Regions from separate parts of the Homo sapiens genome. Here regions 1, 3 and 4 are each linked to region 2. Evidence: promoter capture Hi-C in 16 types of primary human blood cells and fetal thymus (Javierre and others, 2016). All regions are on one chromosome and are shown on one strand. Each heading gives the region's core, a stretch centred on a gene start or on the middle of the fragment in contact. The rest is flanking DNA. Distances are from core to core; before and after follow the strand shown.

Region 1 (4,002 bases), core at 155-2,654, 1.7 Mb after region 2:
CCCAGGTCTCCTGGGCGGGCCTAAACCCCAGCGCTGGGCAAGGGACGGTGCGGGAGAGCAGAGTGCGGGGTGGGGGGTGGAGAGAGAGATGTTCTTGGCCTTTTCTGGCCGCAGACTTCACAGCAGTGGGGGCGGGGTCTTGAAGCCCGCACAGGAGAGCCACTCTTCGGATCCCCAAAGAGGCCACCGCACTAAACCCATTTCTACTTCCGTAGTGCCCCGCAGACGTCACCCTGCCAGGAAGCCACGATTCAGGCTCACCCCTAACGCCCACCAGGAGGAACATGGACAGGGGTAGCTCACGCATCTCCAGCCCCTTGCTGAGGAGTCAGTGGCCCGGCCCTTGGCAGAGCTTCCCCCTTCCCCAGCTGTGACCGGTGTGGGAGGGCGCGGGAGGACAGCAGCGTCCTGCTGCCCAGGCCCAGGTTAGCGGGTCACAGAGCCTTGAGTGTCCTTCCGACGTGAGGGCCTGCGCTGCCGGCCGAGTAGGGTCGCTGGCCGCCAGGCGTCAAAGATCTCCGCCCGAGACTGCCCCACCGCAACGGGCGGTCTCTGTGCTGGCAGGGGACGTCAAGGGAAGGTGGGTGGGGTGGCCCCGCGATGGTCGCCACTTGGACGGGGCTCCCTCCTGCGTCCACTCGGACGGGGCTCCCTCCTGCGTCCACTCCTGGGCGTGTGGGGCAGTGGAATGGGCTACTGCTTAAGCGGATGGGAGGGCGCCCACCCTGCCCCTTTTTCGGGTTCGCTGGCCATCACCACCCTCGGCTTTGAGGAGCGCCCTCACGGGTTTCCATTTCCTGGGCAGAGTCCCTGGGAATCCGCCACAACTGCAGAGACCAGGCGTGCGTGGCGGCCTCCAGCCGGACTGGTTACCTTGCGTCCCGAGGACAGGGCTGGCTTGTGTGGCCACCGCGGCGGGGAACCTGGCCTCGCACAAACATTGGTTGGATTGGAAGGTTCATGCTCTTCCTAGAGTGTCGGATCGGATTCATTTTCTGTCCGTTTGATGCTGGCTTCGCACCAATCCTGATCCAGGCACTGTGCCATGCGCCCGGGCCGCTGGCGCACAGACCTGTCCCGGCCCTCTGGGGCTCCTGTGCTGGTTTCCTCTTCTCCTCTAAAAGCCCTCCAGGCCCAGAGGAGCCTCGGACCCAGCTGAAGTCCGAGACTGGCGTGGCTCGGGGCCCGGCGGGACTCCGTGCTGTCCGTCGTGGAAGGCGGCTGCCCGCAGCCTCGGGTCCTGAACGCGGCGAGAGAGGCTGCGGGCTGGGTCGGGGCTTTCCTCCTGAGACTTCGGAGGCGGAGGTGGCCGGGGTGCAGGTGGTGCGATTGAGTCTCGGGCACCCTGGAGCCGCGGCTGGCTTTTCCCTCGTCCGTCCGAAGGGCCGGCGGCCGACCTTGGTGGGACGCGCGCGCCCTCTGCAGGTGGCGGCGTCGGCCCGGGTCGCCGGCGCCCACCCCTTACCCCCGGGGGGCCGGTGGCTTTCTGGTTCCGAACCCGAGCTGAGAAAGCCTTACCTCCCCCCGACCCAAAGGTACCGCTGGGCGCCCACCGCCACGGGCGCCCCCTCTGCGTCCTCCCTGAGGCCCGGCGCTCGAGCCACGAAGGCGGAGGGGAGGAAGGAGAGGTCCAGCCGCCCGGATGACCGTCCTCCCAGCCCCTCCGCACCCATCGCTCCCGGTGCCCTCGGGCAGGTCGCGGCGGCGTGGGGTCGGGCCATTGGCAGCCCAGTCTGTTCTTCTCAGGGTCCACTGGATTAGGCGATCACATCAGCGGCGCCGAAACTAACAAAGGCCGAGCGAGCTCGGCCCGGCACCCGTCGGGCCGAATCCCTGTAGAAATGGGCTCTCCCGAAAGCCTGGCTCCACATCCGGGGCCGCGCCTGCTCCTGCTCGGCCAGCTTGCTCCTTCCTGGCGGTCCCAGCCCCTTTCTGCAGCTCTCATAAGCCAGAGGACAGGCCCGCTGGGGTCGCCCTTGCCCACTTTCTCCAAAAGGAAACAGCCAGAGCCTTGCGAAGGCAGCAAAAGAGAGCCCACCAGCAGTCTTCTTTCTCTGCAACAGTCGATTTCGAATTCGCAGGACTTCCTGGAGCGGGCTAGTGCTGGGGGTCACATTTCCATTTGCAGGGGGAACCCTTTCCTGAACCAAAACATTCAGGCCTTGGCCCCAAGTAGCTTTTCACCCAGTTACTCCAACATCTAGGCCCAGCTTCTCTCTTCACTTCAAAGAAGCTCTATTCTCCCTGGAGGCTGGAATTCATGAATAAATTCATGCTGAAGTTGGTGGAAGCCTTAAGGAGCCGGGGAAGGTTCTGTAATAAGCAAATCGCCTCTTTATTCGCGAGCTTTGGGTTAGGAGTTGCAGTAGCTGCTAACTCACAGTGACTCCCCTGGAATTTTATGGCTGCCTCCTTGTAAAGCATTATTAGCACATGTGGTGGCTTCAAGGGGTTGAGTGGCTTTCCAACACAGCATCTCTGGATACTGTGGGCGCGGGGAGAGGGAGTTTTATTTTAACTTTGCATGTCTTTTGAAGGGAGCAGTCTCAAAATGAGTTGATTATATATTGCAGCATCCCTGACCTCACCTGACAGATGCCGATAATGCCGCCCCTGCCCCCAACCCCTGCCATTGTGTTTTTTCTGTTTTTCCCATTAATTCAGTCTCTCAAACTCAGCACTACTGACGTGCTGGGAAGGATCATTTCTTTCTGTCATGGAGACTGTTCTGTGCACCTCAGGACGTCTAGCAGCACTCCTGGTATCCACCCACTAGATGCAAGTGGCATCCACCCCACAGCGTGACAAGCAAGATCTCCAGATCTGCAAGTGTTCCCTGGAATGCCAGTTGTTCTCTGTTGTGAGCCACTGGTATATGGACTCTTAAACACCCATCCTTTGCTTGGAAACATATCTTTTTCTGCACCCTCTGCAAGTGGCCTTTCCCAGTCTTTGATTTTTCTGTGCCCCAAGTATTTGGCCTATGTCCAGACGAATTATTTTGCCTCAAGAAAGGAAAAGAGCAGAGTCTACTGTGTTTCCAGGGATCACTCATGATGTACATCAGGCCAAATTTTTTTTTTAAAAATTTATTGATATACTAAGAGATAACAAAAGGACAAAAATCTTCTGACGCCATTTGCTGTCCTTCCCCTGCAAAATAAATTAACATCAGTCTAAAAGAAGAAAAAACCCTGCAACCTATGCTAGTTTTCCAAAAATGCTAGAAAACCCACAGAATCATGAGATGCACTTGAGTAAAATCTGGTCATGTAGGCACTACCTGTTCCCAACTCACCATTCCCCTTCCCCACACCATCAGGGGCTTTTTGGGGGAAGCATTTCCTTAAACTGGTTGATCCTAATTAAATGTGGGCCCTAGGCTGCTGTCCTGTTTCAACAGAGATCCTTTCCTAGGGCAATAACATATCTACTTTTGTTCTCTTTTAAGAAAGCAAACAGCCATAGTTGAAAGCAATTAGAAGTGGCATACATGAATGATTTTTTTTTTAATTAAAAAACACAAATCAAGCCAGTGATTGGCTTTGGTTCAAAGCTTGATCCTCCCCTGAAGTCTCCCCTTAGTGAAAGCTCTCGGCCCAGAGCCCTCTCCAGCTAGGTCAGAATTTCGAGTGTAACCAAAACAAGGAACACTCTTTTTTGGTACAAAATATATACATATAAAAATATGCTAACATCTCTAAGGAAGACAGACTGGCCACTGCTTCCTATTCAATACAGGAGCAAACAAAACGCGGTTAACACACCATTTCACACACACACCATTGCCACAGTTCCTGCGGGACCTTCGGGAAAAAAGCAACAATGCATCGTCAGAAGTGCCAGATACCTAGCTACACAAACACAAACACACACACAAATAGCAGCAAATAAAAATAGAAAAAGTCTACTTTTATTTATTGGTAAACATAAGACAACCAAGTCTGAGCATCTGGTGCAGTTCCCAGTGACGGCACTTGCCCTGCACACGCTCTTGAAGCA
Region 2 (3,840 bases), core at 1,341-3,840:
TGCCGACTCTCCCGGCTCCGGAGGCCGCCCAGCTACCCCCAGCTCCATCCATGCGGTCCCCTCCCCAGGCCCAGCTGCCCGGCCCTCTCCGGCACTGGTTCCAGAAGGGTGGCGGCTGCCCTGCGCCACTGGCTTCCCAGAGCATATCCAGGACAGGCCCCGCGCGACCTTGGGCGAGGCCCCGCTGCTAAACAGAAAAATCACAGCGCGCGGTCCAGCCCCCTGCGCCCCGCGGGCTCCAGGCCTCGCCCTGCCCGCCCGCCCGCATCCCAGGGACAGGCAGACCCGCATCCCCGCCGCCGTCGGTCCCGGGACTCCCCAGGCTCCGAGGCCCCCCACGCCCGGCTCCCGCCCCGACCCCTCGGAGGCGCCGGGCCACTCCTACGCCCCGAGGCTGCCCGGCCGCCGCCCCTCTGTCCCGCGCGCCAATCGGCGGCCTCCTTGACTAAATAAGGCCAGGAGCGCCGGGCGGGCGCCCCCCGTCCGTTACTTCCGCCCCCCGCCCGCCGTGACTCAGGCCCGGCGGCGGGCGGGGATGGCGCTGCCCCGGGCCGGGCTTCCCGGCGGAGGCGGGCGGGGCTCCGGCGGCGCCGAAGTCGCCAAATATGGCCGCGCCACCGCCCCCCGCCGCGTACCTGGGCCACACCTTGACCCCTGCCGCGTGACGCGGCCGCGGAGGAGGAAGTCGCTCTCCACCCCCGGCCCGCGGCGGCGTCCCCTCCCCGCCCCTCCCCGCGGCTCAGGCCCTGCGGGTGGCGGGGAACCCGGGGGTCTCGAGGCGCCAGCCTCGCCCCCGCCCCCACGACCCTGGCGGCCTCGGGTCCGCAACGTGGGGAAGAAAGGTGGGGGACGGGGACGCGCGCCCGGGGCCGGCACCTCCCCGCACTTCCTAGACAAAGAAGCTTCGGAGGAGACCAGAGACCCGGAGGGGCAGGGTCCCCGGCCGGCCCGGAGCAGAACGTAGTGTGGGGTGAACGCAGGATGGAGGGGCTTGTGGCTATTCCCCACCCGCCTCGTGTCCCTCGGTGTGTGACGTCGCATCTTGGGACCCCCCAAGTGGAAGTCCTCACCCGGGGGTCGAGCAGGCTGTGTGGTTCTGCCCAGGGACGCGAGTCCGGGTGGGTCTGTTGGAGGCCCAGCCCCGGCTTCGCCACGGGAGGGAACATACCTGACAGCCTTGCCCGGGCCCCCGGAGATTCTGGGCCTGGGGGCGCTCAGCACCCCTGGGAGGCCTGGGGCACGGGGGCCTTAGGCACGGGTCTCGGCGTCCGGGCTGACTGCAGCCCGCAGGTGAGCTGGGCCGGCCGCCTTGCCCTGACTCGCTGTTGTCACTCCCAAACACGGGGTCGCGAGCTAACGTTGCAGGGCCCCGGACTCCGCGTGGGGACCCCGGCCCCGCCCCCCAGCCTGTCGAGTCAATCTGAACGCTCTGCGACCTCGGGCGAGTCCGTCCCCTCACTGCGCGGCCTCACTGCCACCCCTACGCGGCCGGCGCTCCAACCCTGAAAATTCCAGCAGCGCACAAGGAAACCGTAGTGCCGGGCGCCTCTCGGGGTGTAACCAAAGCACCGGCGCCGCTCCTGGCGAGGAGTGAGCGCCCTGGACAAGCCTGTGGCTAAACCCACGCCAGCCCTGATCGCTGCTCTTAACTAGCATCGTAAACAGAAGAGGGTATCCCCCCGACCGCCCGAAGCTGGGGAGCCGACCTTCAAAAAAGTCAGGGCTCCCATTGTCTACCTCAGTTTCCCTATAATGTCTACAGGTGACCAGAATGAAACAAAGGCCTCACTCCACACCACCTTCTCAGCACATAAGGGGGCGGGGTAGCCCCAACCCGGAGCGCGCGCCTGGGGACAATCAGGCCTGTGATTTGAGGGGCAGGGATGTGTCGGGTCGGGTAGAAAGGGGCCTCGGTCTTCAAACGAACGGAGATCCGGGGCAGGGCGCCCCGTGGAGGGACCTGCATGGTGGTGGCTGCGCTTGGGGACGGGCGGGCTGTTTCCTATGGTGACCGGGGCGAGGTGAGGGCTCCTGAGAGCTCCCCCGCGCCCAGGGACGCAGAGCGTCGCGGACCCCCGCCGCGCCCCTTCCTCAGCCCGGCACTGGCGCCCGAGATCCTCGTGGAGCCCGAGGGGAAAGATTGCAAGGGACGTCCCAGGGAGCAAAGCCCCGCAGCGTGGCCGGGGACTCGGGGACCCACCCCAGCTCCGGCGCGGCCCCGCCCCGGGTCAGGCAGTTTCGGGGCGCAGCAGGGCCCTCCCCACGGCGCGGCAGTCCCGGGGAGGGGCCAGGCCCGTCAGCCCTTCGGCCCTCCCGGCGACCCTCGGAGGGCGCCCCAACTCAGACCCGCCCGCCGGCCCGCGCAGGGTCGCGAGCGCGCGGGGGTGGCGCGGGCGGGGCCGTTGGGAGGCGGTGCGGGCTGGGGGCGGGGCGGGCCGGGGCCCCACGTGTCCCTGCCCGGCGGGCCAATGGGTGCCCGGCTTTCGGAAAGATCGCCATATATGGACATGTTCTGGGGCCGCGCGCGCCGCCGGGCCGCGCGGGCGCGCCGCTTCCGCTTAAATAACGGCGGGGGAGGCCGCGGTCGGTCTCAGTCGCCGCTGCCAGCTCTCGCACTCTGTTCTTCCGCCGCTCCGCCGTCGCGTTTCTCTGCCGGTGAGCGCCCCGCCCCGGGGCCTGAGCTGGACGTCGCAGGCCTGCGCCCCCCGACCCCGGCTGGCCCCGCTTCCAGCTGCCGAGGCCTCGTCGCGCCTTCCCCGGGAACAAAAGGCGGGGTGGGCCGGGTCAGGCGGACGGGGCTGGGGGGGCGCCGGGGGTCCAGGGCGGGGCCCGGCCGCAGTGCAGACTTCCGAGCCGTGGACGTTACGTAAAAGGCCCGGCCTTCGGTTCCAGGCGGTTGCGATCTTGGAGGCCACGGCCGCTGGGGTTGGGGCAGGGCCGAGGCTTCCCCGCGGGAGGGCATTAGGTGGCTGTGGGGAGGGGACCGTGTTACAGACGCGCCCGCCTGAGTCCATCCTTTTCCGGGCAGGTCGCAATGGAAGAAGAGATCGCCGCGCTGGTCATTGACAATGGCTCCGGCATGTGCAAAGCTGGTTTTGCTGGGGACGACGCTCCCCGAGCCGTGTTTCCTTCCATCGTCGGGCGCCCCAGACACCAGGTGAGTGGATGGCGCCGCGGGGCTCCTGGGTTCTGCGTTGCGGGGTGGGTTCGGTGTCGCCGGCGAGGCTGACGGGTCGTCCCCTGCAGGGCGTCATGGTGGGCATGGGCCAGAAGGACTCCTACGTGGGCGACGAGGCCCAGAGCAAGCGTGGCATCCTGACCCTGAAGTACCCCATTGAGCATGGCATCGTCACCAACTGGGACGACATGGAGAAGATCTGGCACCACACCTTCTACAACGAGCTGCGCGTGGCCCCGGAGGAGCACCCAGTGCTGCTGACCGAGGCCCCCCTGAACCCCAAGGCCAACAGAGAGAAGATGACTCAGGTGAGGCTCGGCCGACGCCCGTGCTCCTCCCGTCCTTTCCCCAGTCATTTTCTGCCCGGCTTGATTTCTGACATTTAAGTGTTTCTTTCGCTGTTCCAGGCTCTGTTCCTCTCCCGGCATTTCCTCCCTGAAGCCTCCAGGTTTCTCATTTGGTTTCTGCCTGCGTTCTTTTCTTTTCTCCACACATCACACTGGCATGCAGCATGTTGTGGCGTGTGAGCATGGGGTGGCCGTGGGTCTCTGTCCCTGACTAAGCCGCCCCTTGTCCCTTCTCAGATTATGTTTGAGACCTTCAACACCCCGGCCATGTACGTGGCCATCCAGGCCGTGCTGTCCCTCTACGCCTCTGGGCGC
Region 3 (4,066 bases), core at 341-2,840, 1.7 Mb after region 2:
GGGATCCTGCCCCATTCCACCTGGGAGTTCACCACCCTGTAACCATGTCAGCGGCTGATGCCACGTTGCATAATGGGTCCCTGAAGAATTAAAACGCAGGCTGTCGCAATGCCACGCAACTTCAGAGTCAGGCCCCGGCCCCCGCCCTGGGGCATGTCAGAACTCCCCAGGGTTGGTCCAAGGAGGCATGGGGGTGGTAGCTAGGGTCTGTGAGGAACCCGTTTCCGGCCCAGGAATGGGCTGCAACTTTGGCAGACACTAGAGAGGCATCCCACTCGTCCGTGGAGGGCTGGGTAGTGCCTGGGAAGATCCAGCCCCCAGCTGTGGATCACCCTTAGGCTGGCCTGCAGGCAGGAGCCTGGTGGCTGTAGTGACCGGTGCCTCCGCCCATGGGCTTTATTCATTATTTGGAAATTGAGGCAGCCAGGAGCCAGACTCCGAGGAGGAGGCGGTGCTTCTCTAAGCTGCTCCGGCCACGCCCACCTGCTCAGCTGGGAGGAGCGCAGCGTTCACCAGGTGGCCACAAACCTGGCCACACCCTGGCCTTGGTGGCCCGCCCCCGCCCCCAGCCCCTAATTGGCTCATTTGCCGCTGTGTAAACAAGGGCGCAGCCCCTCCCCCTGTTTAGTGCCTGGCCTTTAAGAAAGGGCCCTCCCTTCTGCCGGAGGCACTCGTTATCGGAATCTTAATGAGGTCATTAGCATCCCGCGCTTCTGACGGGAGGGATGAGGTCGGCGCACACCTCGCTTGGGCTGGTTTGTCTTCCCTGGATCCCCGTGTCCACTTTGCTTCGCACAGAGCCACAGGCCCAAGGCCGTGGGCAGGAGGGCCAGAGGTGCAGCCCTGAGCTTCTGCCTCCTGAGCACAGAGGTGGGGCTTGGGGGGGTGCTGGTTCGGGTGTGGGCATCAAAGTGGGGGAGCCCTTTGCCCAGGACCTCTTGGGCAGAGGAGGGTTGGTGTGAGGGTTAAGGGCGCAGAGGCCTGACCTGCCCTGAACTCTTGATTCCTGTGTCCGGCCAGCCCTACCTGATGCTCTCTGAAGCGGGGGGGGGGGCATCACAGAAGATTCCGGAATTAGCGGGTAGGGGGCGACCCTGAGGCTAACAGCACTGCCCTCTGTTCCCTCCCACCCAGGGAACGGCAGGAGCAGCTGATGGGATATCGGAAGAGAGGGCCGAAGCCCAAACCGCTAGTGGTGCAGGTGAATACACACGGCCGCCCCTGGGCACCCCCTTGACATGGCCACCAGAGCTGCCTCCAGGCCTGGGGATGGGGGGGGTGGTGGTGGTTCCTCCCAGCACCCTGACCCTGTTCCCTTTCTACTAGACCTCCCACCTCCTGCCCCCCATGAGGCAGCTGCGGACCTGGTGGGGGCTGGGACGCTCCAGAAACTCCCGGCATGCGGTGGGGCTGTCTCCTCCCTCCTCTCACCCCTGCACCCGTTCCCTCAGGTGCCTACCTTTGCCCGTCGTTCCAATGTCCTGACCGGCCTCCAGGACTCCTCCACTGACAACCGTGCCAAGCTGGATTTGGGCGCGCAGGGGAAGGGCCAGGGGCATCAGTACGAGCTCAACAGCAAGAAGCACCACCAGTACCAGCCGCACAGCAAGGAGCGGGCGGGCAAGCCCCCGCCGCCGGGCAAGAGCGGCAAGTACTACTACCAGCTCAACAGCAAGAAGCACCACCCCTACCAGCCCGACCCCAAAATGTACGACCTGCAGTACCAGGGCGGCCACAAGGAGGCGCCCAGCCCCACCTGCCCGGACCTGGGGGCCAAGAGCCACCCGCCCGACAAGTGGGCGCAAGGTGCGGGGGCCAAAGGCTACCTGGGGGCGGTGAAGCCCCTGGCCGGTGCGGCGGGTGCTCCAGGCAAAGGCTCCGAGAAGGGCCCCCCCAACGGAATGATGCCGGCCCCCAAAGAGGCTGTGACGGGCAACGGGATTGGGGGCAAGATGAAGATAGTCAAGAACAAGAACAAGAACGGACGCATCGTGATCGTGATGAGCAAATACATGGAGAACGGCATGCAGGCGGTGAAGATCAAGTCCGGCGAGGTGGCAGAGGGGGAGGCTCGCTCCCCCAGCCACAAGAAGCGGGCAGCCGACGAGCGCCACCCTCCTGCCGACAGGACTTTTAAAAAGGCGGCGGGCGCAGAGGAGAAGAAGGTGGAGGCGCCGCCCAAGAGGAGGGAGGAGGAGGTGTCCGGGGTTAGCGATCCGCAGCCCCAGGATGCCGGCTCCCGCAAGCTGTCCCCGACCAAGGAGGCCTTTGGAGAGCAGCCCCTGCAGCTCACCACCAAGCCCGACCTGCTTGCCTGGGACCCGGCCCGGAACACGCACCCGCCCTCACACCACCCGCACCCGCACCCCCATCACCACCACCACCACCACCACCACCACCACCACGCCGTCGGCCTGAATCTCTCCCACGTGCGCAAGCGCTGCCTCTCCGAGACCCACGGCGAGCGCGAGCCCTGCAAGAAGCGGCTGACTGCGCGCAGCATCAGCACCCCCACCTGCCTGGGGGGCAGCCCAGCCGCTGAGCGCCCGGCCGACCTGCCACCAGCCGCCGCCCTCCCGCAGCCCGAGGTCATCCTGCTAGACTCAGACCTGGATGAACCCATAGACTTGCGCTGCGTCAAGACGCGCAGCGAGGCCGGGGAGCCGCCCAGCTCCCTCCAGGTGAAGCCCGAGACACCGGCGTCGGCGGCGGTGGCGGTGGCGGCGGCAGCGGCACCCACCACGACGGCGGAGAAGCCTCCAGCCGAGGCCCAGGACGAACCTGCAGAGTCGCTGAGCGAGTTCAAGCCCTTCTTTGGGAATATAATTATCACCGACGTCACCGCGAACTGCCTCACCGTTACTTTCAAGGAGTACGTGACGGTGTAGCCGGAGGGCGTCGGAAGGGGAAGCGCCATTCCCGCGGGGGGGCGGGGAGCTGAGCACCTGGGGCCTCGGGGCGGGCTCCCCTCTCGCCAACCCGCCAACCGCGAGAGACCCAGGCTGGCCCCCAGGGTGAGGACGCCCGGAGCGGAGGTAACCATGTTCCCCCTGCGGCGGCTGTCAGACCTGGGCGGAGGCCCCTTCCACGCGGTGCCGGCGGGGCTCGCCCTCTCCTGCCCTTCCCCGCTGGAGATGGACCCCCGGAACGGACAGGGCAGCTCTGCGCCCGGCCTCAGAGTTCTAGTATTATATTTTAACCGTGCTAACTTGTCAAGTGCTGACTCTACTCCCGTTTGTACGTGGTGTTATTATTGAAATGTATTGTTTGAGCTCAAAAGGCCCGACCACCCCCCTTCGGGCTGCTATATATATATTTATTTGTAGGTATTTATATATTGAAATATAAAAACCTAGATTTATGGAGTTTCCTCTAGATCATGTTATATTCTATATCAGACAAACTATTTTCTTTTGACCTTTCTTCCCCTCCATCCAGTATTTCGGTTGATTTCATTTTCTCCCCTCTCTTCCCCTTCCACGAACTGCAATACCAGTAACCTTGGTATATATTTTTTGATACTGTACACATGGATGTCTTGTTTCTATGTGCAAAAAAAAAAAAAAAAAAAAGTTTGTTAAAAGGCTACACGAGCTCTCTAGAAACTGCTGCTACTAGAAATGTCTAAACTATAAGCTTCCAACTATTACCTGCTTGAATGTAAATATTAAATGGAGATGTTGAAGGTGCATTTTCGCTGTTTGAGATGAGCGGACCCCTCTCGCCACCAACTCCGCCTTCGAGCCCTGTGCTGAACCTTTGCACCAGCGAAGTGGGCTGGTTTTGCGGGCCGCGGCGCCGGCGCAGGAGGGTGACCCCGCTCCCTGGGAAGTCGAGAGGCGCCCGGCTGGGAAGGGGAATTCCTGCGGGGGGGTGGGTGTGGGAGCCGTCCCCGCCCCCAGGGCTTTCCGGCCGGCGGTGCCCAAGGCACTGGCAAACCCTGGGTTCTGGGTAGGGGAGGAGGGGGTGCAGGGGTGGGCGGCGCGGACACGCGGGTGGGGCTAGTCTCCCTCGCGGCACCCACTGGGCAGCGGCTGACCTTTGGCTCTCCTCCCCCGTAGCCTCC
Region 4 (4,074 bases), core at 577-3,076, 1.7 Mb after region 2:
CCAATGAGCGCGCACCAGCTCAGCCCGGCGCCCGCCGCGTGCCCTTATATGGTGCGGCCGCTCGGCGGGCGCTCGCGCACATCGCCATATAAGGGCAGGAACCTAAATACAGGCTATACCTTGTTCTCCGCTCGCCCGGCCGCGGCCCCGGCGATCGATGAGCGCGCCGCCGAGCGGGCTGCGGCGCGCGGGCCCCGGGAGCCGGCGGGGAGGGGGCCGCGGCGGCCGTTCAGCCCGGGCCAGATGTGGCCGGCGCAATGGCTGCCCGGCCAGCTGCAGCGCTCGGAAGGTGCCACTCGCCGCCGCCGCGCTCCCCATCCTTTCCCTCTCCCCCTGCCCCCCCATTTGGAGGTGCAAATGCAGATGAACCGGGATTGAAATCTAATTGCTTTTGTTTAAAAAAATGTGAGCCAGTCCGTGTTGAGTTTGAGCAGACGCCTGGGATCCCGGCAAACCAAGCAGAACGCCTGGGGGAGAGAAGGGGAAAAGCCCTAGGGTCTGGGCGGGGGGCGGGGGCCGGGGGGAGGCGCCGGTAGAGTGCTGCGTGGAGCCTCAGCGCCAGGAGGCCGGGAACAGTGGCCACGAGGACCCACTGGCTCTGTGCCCTGGAGGCGCGGGCGGCCTGGAGCCAGCCAGGTGGTGGAAGGGAGAGGTGAGAGGTGTCGCTGTCACACCTTTCTTCTCTGTCGCTGTGCCAGCCCTGCTCCTGACGGCAGGCTGCAAGAGGCTGGGGGGATAGGGGACAGGCCCCCCAGCTCGGAAGATTGAAGCCATCAGGGCCGGATCTGGGCAAGGAAGGAGTCATCTCAGGGATTCTCTGCCAGAGGGGCGGTGGGTCCTGGGTGAAGCCTCCTGAGATCCTGGTCTCCTTGGTCAGATTGACGCCTGCCTGTGCTGGTGACCTCAGTGTCCGTCTCGAACAGGACGCCCCACTTGCTTTCCCTCTCCCCACTTCTGGCTGGTCTGTTTGCCCACGGAAGAGGAGTCTGAGCTGCCCCTGCAAGGGTCTGGACGGTGAAAGTGGCCCCAGGATGTCCAGGGAGTGTGGAGGGGCCTCTCTGGCTAGGACACGTGGTGCACTGACCCAGTTCTCTCACGCAGCCTGGTGGCAAGGCGACTTGGTGCAGGTGTATGCTGTTGTAGACCTAGTGGTAGCCCGCCTAGCACCCCCACCAGGTGCACAGTGAGGCCTTTACCTCCCACGGGTGGCAGAAGGCAGGAGAGACCCCCGACACCCACAGGCCCCAAGGCCTCACCGGTGGATGGCACGGAAGAAGCTTATGCACCTGGAGCAGTGGCCCCTAATATGGAGAGGACTGTCCCTCAGCACATACCCATCGCCCCTCAGGTGTCCTTCTCCGCGCAGTTTAGACTGTGATTGTGTCAACCTTGCCTCGGCTCGCCAGTGCCTGGAGATGCTGACAAGAGAGCCTCTTTCTCCAAGGAGGCCATTTCCAGTAGCATGATGCCACCTATAGAATGTACCTGGAATTAGTCTGAGCTGCAGCCTTGCTGCCAGCAGTGTGGGGCTGGAGGGAGGAGCACACCTTAGATTGTTCCTCGCCAGAGTTGAGCCTGGAATGGTAGCCTAGTCACACAGGCCTTCCCCTGGAGTCCTCCTCTTGCCACCCTGTGTCTCCTAGTAGGTATTTGGTAGCTCTGGGCCTGGCATCATTGGGAAAATGGTGGCCAGTACCCGGTGTATCTGGGACAGGAATCTGCCACTCCTACTAGGAGTCCCTAGCTTCTTGGGCAGGCACAAACTCCAGGGTTCTGTGTACTGCCCTGGGCATGTGCATCAGTGGTCAGCACTCAACAGTCAACAAGTATTTCCAAAAGGTTCAGGAAAACCCTCATATGCCTACACGAATGATCTCGAGGTGTCGAACATGGAGACCAGACTGGCGGCCCCAAGGCTGCCTGCTCCGAATGCTGGTTTTGCAGGGAGAAAGAGAGAGACTTGTCCAAGGTAACCCAGTTAGCCAGGGGCAGAGCAAGCCTGGATTTCATTCCCAATCCACTGTTTTATGCATTATGCAGGTGCATCTCAGCAGCAGCCCAGGCATGGGCTTCTGTGTCAATGTGGCTTGTCAATCCTGGAACCCAGGAGCCCTAGCATGGGGACTTGAAACTGACTACCATTGATCTCAGCCAGTCCTACTCCCTGAGCAGCTGGACAGAGGCTGGAAAAGCCAGTGGGTCTCTGGTCTCAGGCTGCTAAGCTCCTGGTCCCGCCAAAGGCTGGGATTGGCCATAGCCAGTGACATTGCCACAGGCTGCTCTTCATGCCAAGCTCCAAACCCTAGCGCAGCACAGCCATGCCCGGCTCCCCTAGGTGCCTGGTTCCACACCAGCAAGAGCTACCCTGAAGCTTCCCCTTAGGCTCCTCAACTCTTGGGTGACAGATTTAGGTTGAGCTCTGTCCTGTGACTTAACTTGGTCATTAACAAGTTACTTAACCCTCTGAGCCTGTGTCTTCATCTTTAAATGGAGCCTCCCTCTAAGGGTTGTGATGAGGAATAGAAGCAGAGTCCCGTAAACCTCCAGCACAAAGCCTGGCTCAGAGCAGCCCTCACTCAGCGGATGGTGGCTACATCTGTCCACTCCCAGCACTCTGGTACACCCTCTTGTGCCAGGCTAGATACCAATGGGATACAAACACCATAACACATCATGTCCATTTGAGCCACTGTAGAAACAGGTATTCCCAGCACTCCCTCGCAGATGCCGTGATGAGTGGTTGGTGGGTATCAGATCCAACCCCCTTCCTGCCCTTGCACACTTTCTTCCAGTCCTGCCTAGCTCCACCCTCTGCCCTGCCCTGCCCCCTGTGACAATCCAGGGCCCTGCAACCCTTCACACACCACTTCCCAGGGCATCCTTGGAACTGCCATGTAGACAGCCCCAGAAACTTTCCTTCCAGGGAAGGGGATGCGTGAACCCACAGAAGCTGCGGAAGAAACCGAGCCTAGGACTCCTTTCTCATCTTGGAAAAACAGCAAGTGTGTGTGTGTGTGTGTGTGTGTGTGTGTGTGTAGTATGGAGTCCTGCTTTCCTGGGATCCTGTGGGTCCATTACAGATGCCTGTCATAGCAACAAAATGGGAAAGAACTGGCCCATTCTGCAGGTGGGACCACTGATTTCCAGGAGAGAGACCTGATCTTGTGGTGCAAGCACGTGAGGCACTTCCCCAGATTCCACTGGCCACTAGTCCCACGATTTGAAGGGACGGGCAGTCAGTGTTGAGAGAGGCAGCTGGTGAGGCACCTGGGTTAGACTGCAGGTGCCGAAGGACCCAACAGGAGCTGTGGGAGAAAGTGACTCAGTCTTGCCCTGTCTTGCCGTGGCAAATCATCTCCCCCAACATCCACTCCTGTCTTTCTCCCCTTTTCTTTCCCTACACTCGATGCCCTCACTCTGGGAACGACATCTCTGTGATCTCTGCCAGCGATGGCCCCACCTGCTCCTGAAGACCCTCGACTCCCCCATGCCCACCTGTGCCCACCTTCTTCATTTCGGCTGGACACCACTGCACACCAGACTTGTGCAAAGTGAGGGTCAGACTTGGGGATATGCTCTTAGATGTTCCCGACTCCTGAGAGGGACCTGTACCCACCCCGCTGTCCCTCACTGGGGAGCTGTAAGACCACTCCAAGGCTGAAGCCCAGTGTCCTGCACCCCTATCCAGTGGACACCCTTCCCATTGCTCAGGCCCTTCCAGGCTGAATGGCGCCCCCCTCAAGAGGAGAGGTCCAACCCCTCCCCTCAGCTTGGGACAGAGTGGGGGTGGGGTAGAGAGGACAGTTCCCCAAGGGACTGCCCACCCCCATCCCAGAGCTCGTATAATGCCTGGAGCAGGCTGGAGAATGAGGTCCGCCAGAGATCCTGTCTTGCAGACCTAAGAAAAGGTTTCAGGGAACAGAAGAATTGGTAACCCCTGCAGGCCTCCCTGCTGGCCACTTCCTCTTCTATTCATCCCAGGTCCTCCCTACTCTCCAAAAGGGAGAAACTGAGGGAGAAACCTGGGACTGAATGGAAGGCCTGGAATCCCAACTCCCCCTGAGGTTTTTGGCT

What was found. The method cuts DNA at HindIII sites, captures the fragments that hold promoters and counts their contacts. A CHiCAGO score of 5 or more calls a contact.
Region 1: a contact is called between a fragment that was not itself captured here and the fragment with the promoter of ACTG1 in region 2, in 1 of 17 cell types (total B cells). The highest score is 7.8, in total B cells.
Region 3: a contact is called between a fragment that was not itself captured here and the fragment with the promoter of ACTG1 in region 2, in 2 of 17 cell types (total B cells and naive B cells). The highest score is 5.5, in total B cells.
Region 4: a contact is called between a fragment that was not itself captured here and the fragment with the promoter of ACTG1 in region 2, in 2 of 17 cell types (naive B cells and total B cells). The highest score is 12.5, in naive B cells.

The regions. Positions count from the first base shown.
Region 1 is chr17:79,787,460-79,791,461 of GRCh38, reverse strand. CBX2 (chromobox 2) reads right to left here. Exons shown (of 5, transcript NM_005189.3): 5 at 3,479-4,002. Among named protein-coding and RNA genes, the nearest start is that of CBX8, 7.6 kb to the left of the region's middle. RefSeq lists an enhancer at 1-694 and a silencer at 1,356-1,505. The HindIII fragment of the contact is 4,309 bases long and covers 1-3,558 here.
Region 2 is chr17:81,511,549-81,515,388 of GRCh38, reverse strand. It overlaps ACTG1 (actin gamma 1), which reads left to right and starts at 2,590. Exons shown (of 6, transcript NM_001614.5): 1 at 2,590-2,655; 2 at 3,029-3,157; 3 at 3,247-3,486; 4 at 3,763-3,840. The coding sequence starts at 3,035. It also overlaps a transcript of FSCN2 not described here. RefSeq lists silencers at 105-154, 225-944, 1,165-1,354, 1,985-2,464, 2,665-2,834 and enhancers at 1-342, 1,485-1,534, 1,565-1,844, 3,055-3,144. The HindIII fragment of the contact is 3,930 bases long and covers 905-3,840 here.
Region 3 is chr17:79,832,781-79,836,846 of GRCh38, reverse strand. It overlaps CBX4 (chromobox 4), which reads left to right. Exons shown (of 5, transcript NM_003655.3): 4 at 1,135-1,201; 5 at 1,452-3,691. The coding sequence ends at 2,888. Among named protein-coding and RNA genes, the nearest start is that of CBX4, 4.6 kb to the left of the region's middle. RefSeq lists enhancers at 38-859, 1,775-1,824. The HindIII fragment of the contact is 4,097 bases long and covers 1-3,638 here.
Region 4 is chr17:79,806,247-79,810,320 of GRCh38, reverse strand. It overlaps LOC124904071 (a long non-coding RNA gene), which reads right to left and starts at 1,724. Exons shown (of 2, transcript XR_007065928.1): 1 at 1,335-1,724. RefSeq lists a silencer at 170-249 and an enhancer at 1,059-1,188. The HindIII fragment of the contact is 1,094 bases long and covers 1,280-2,373 here.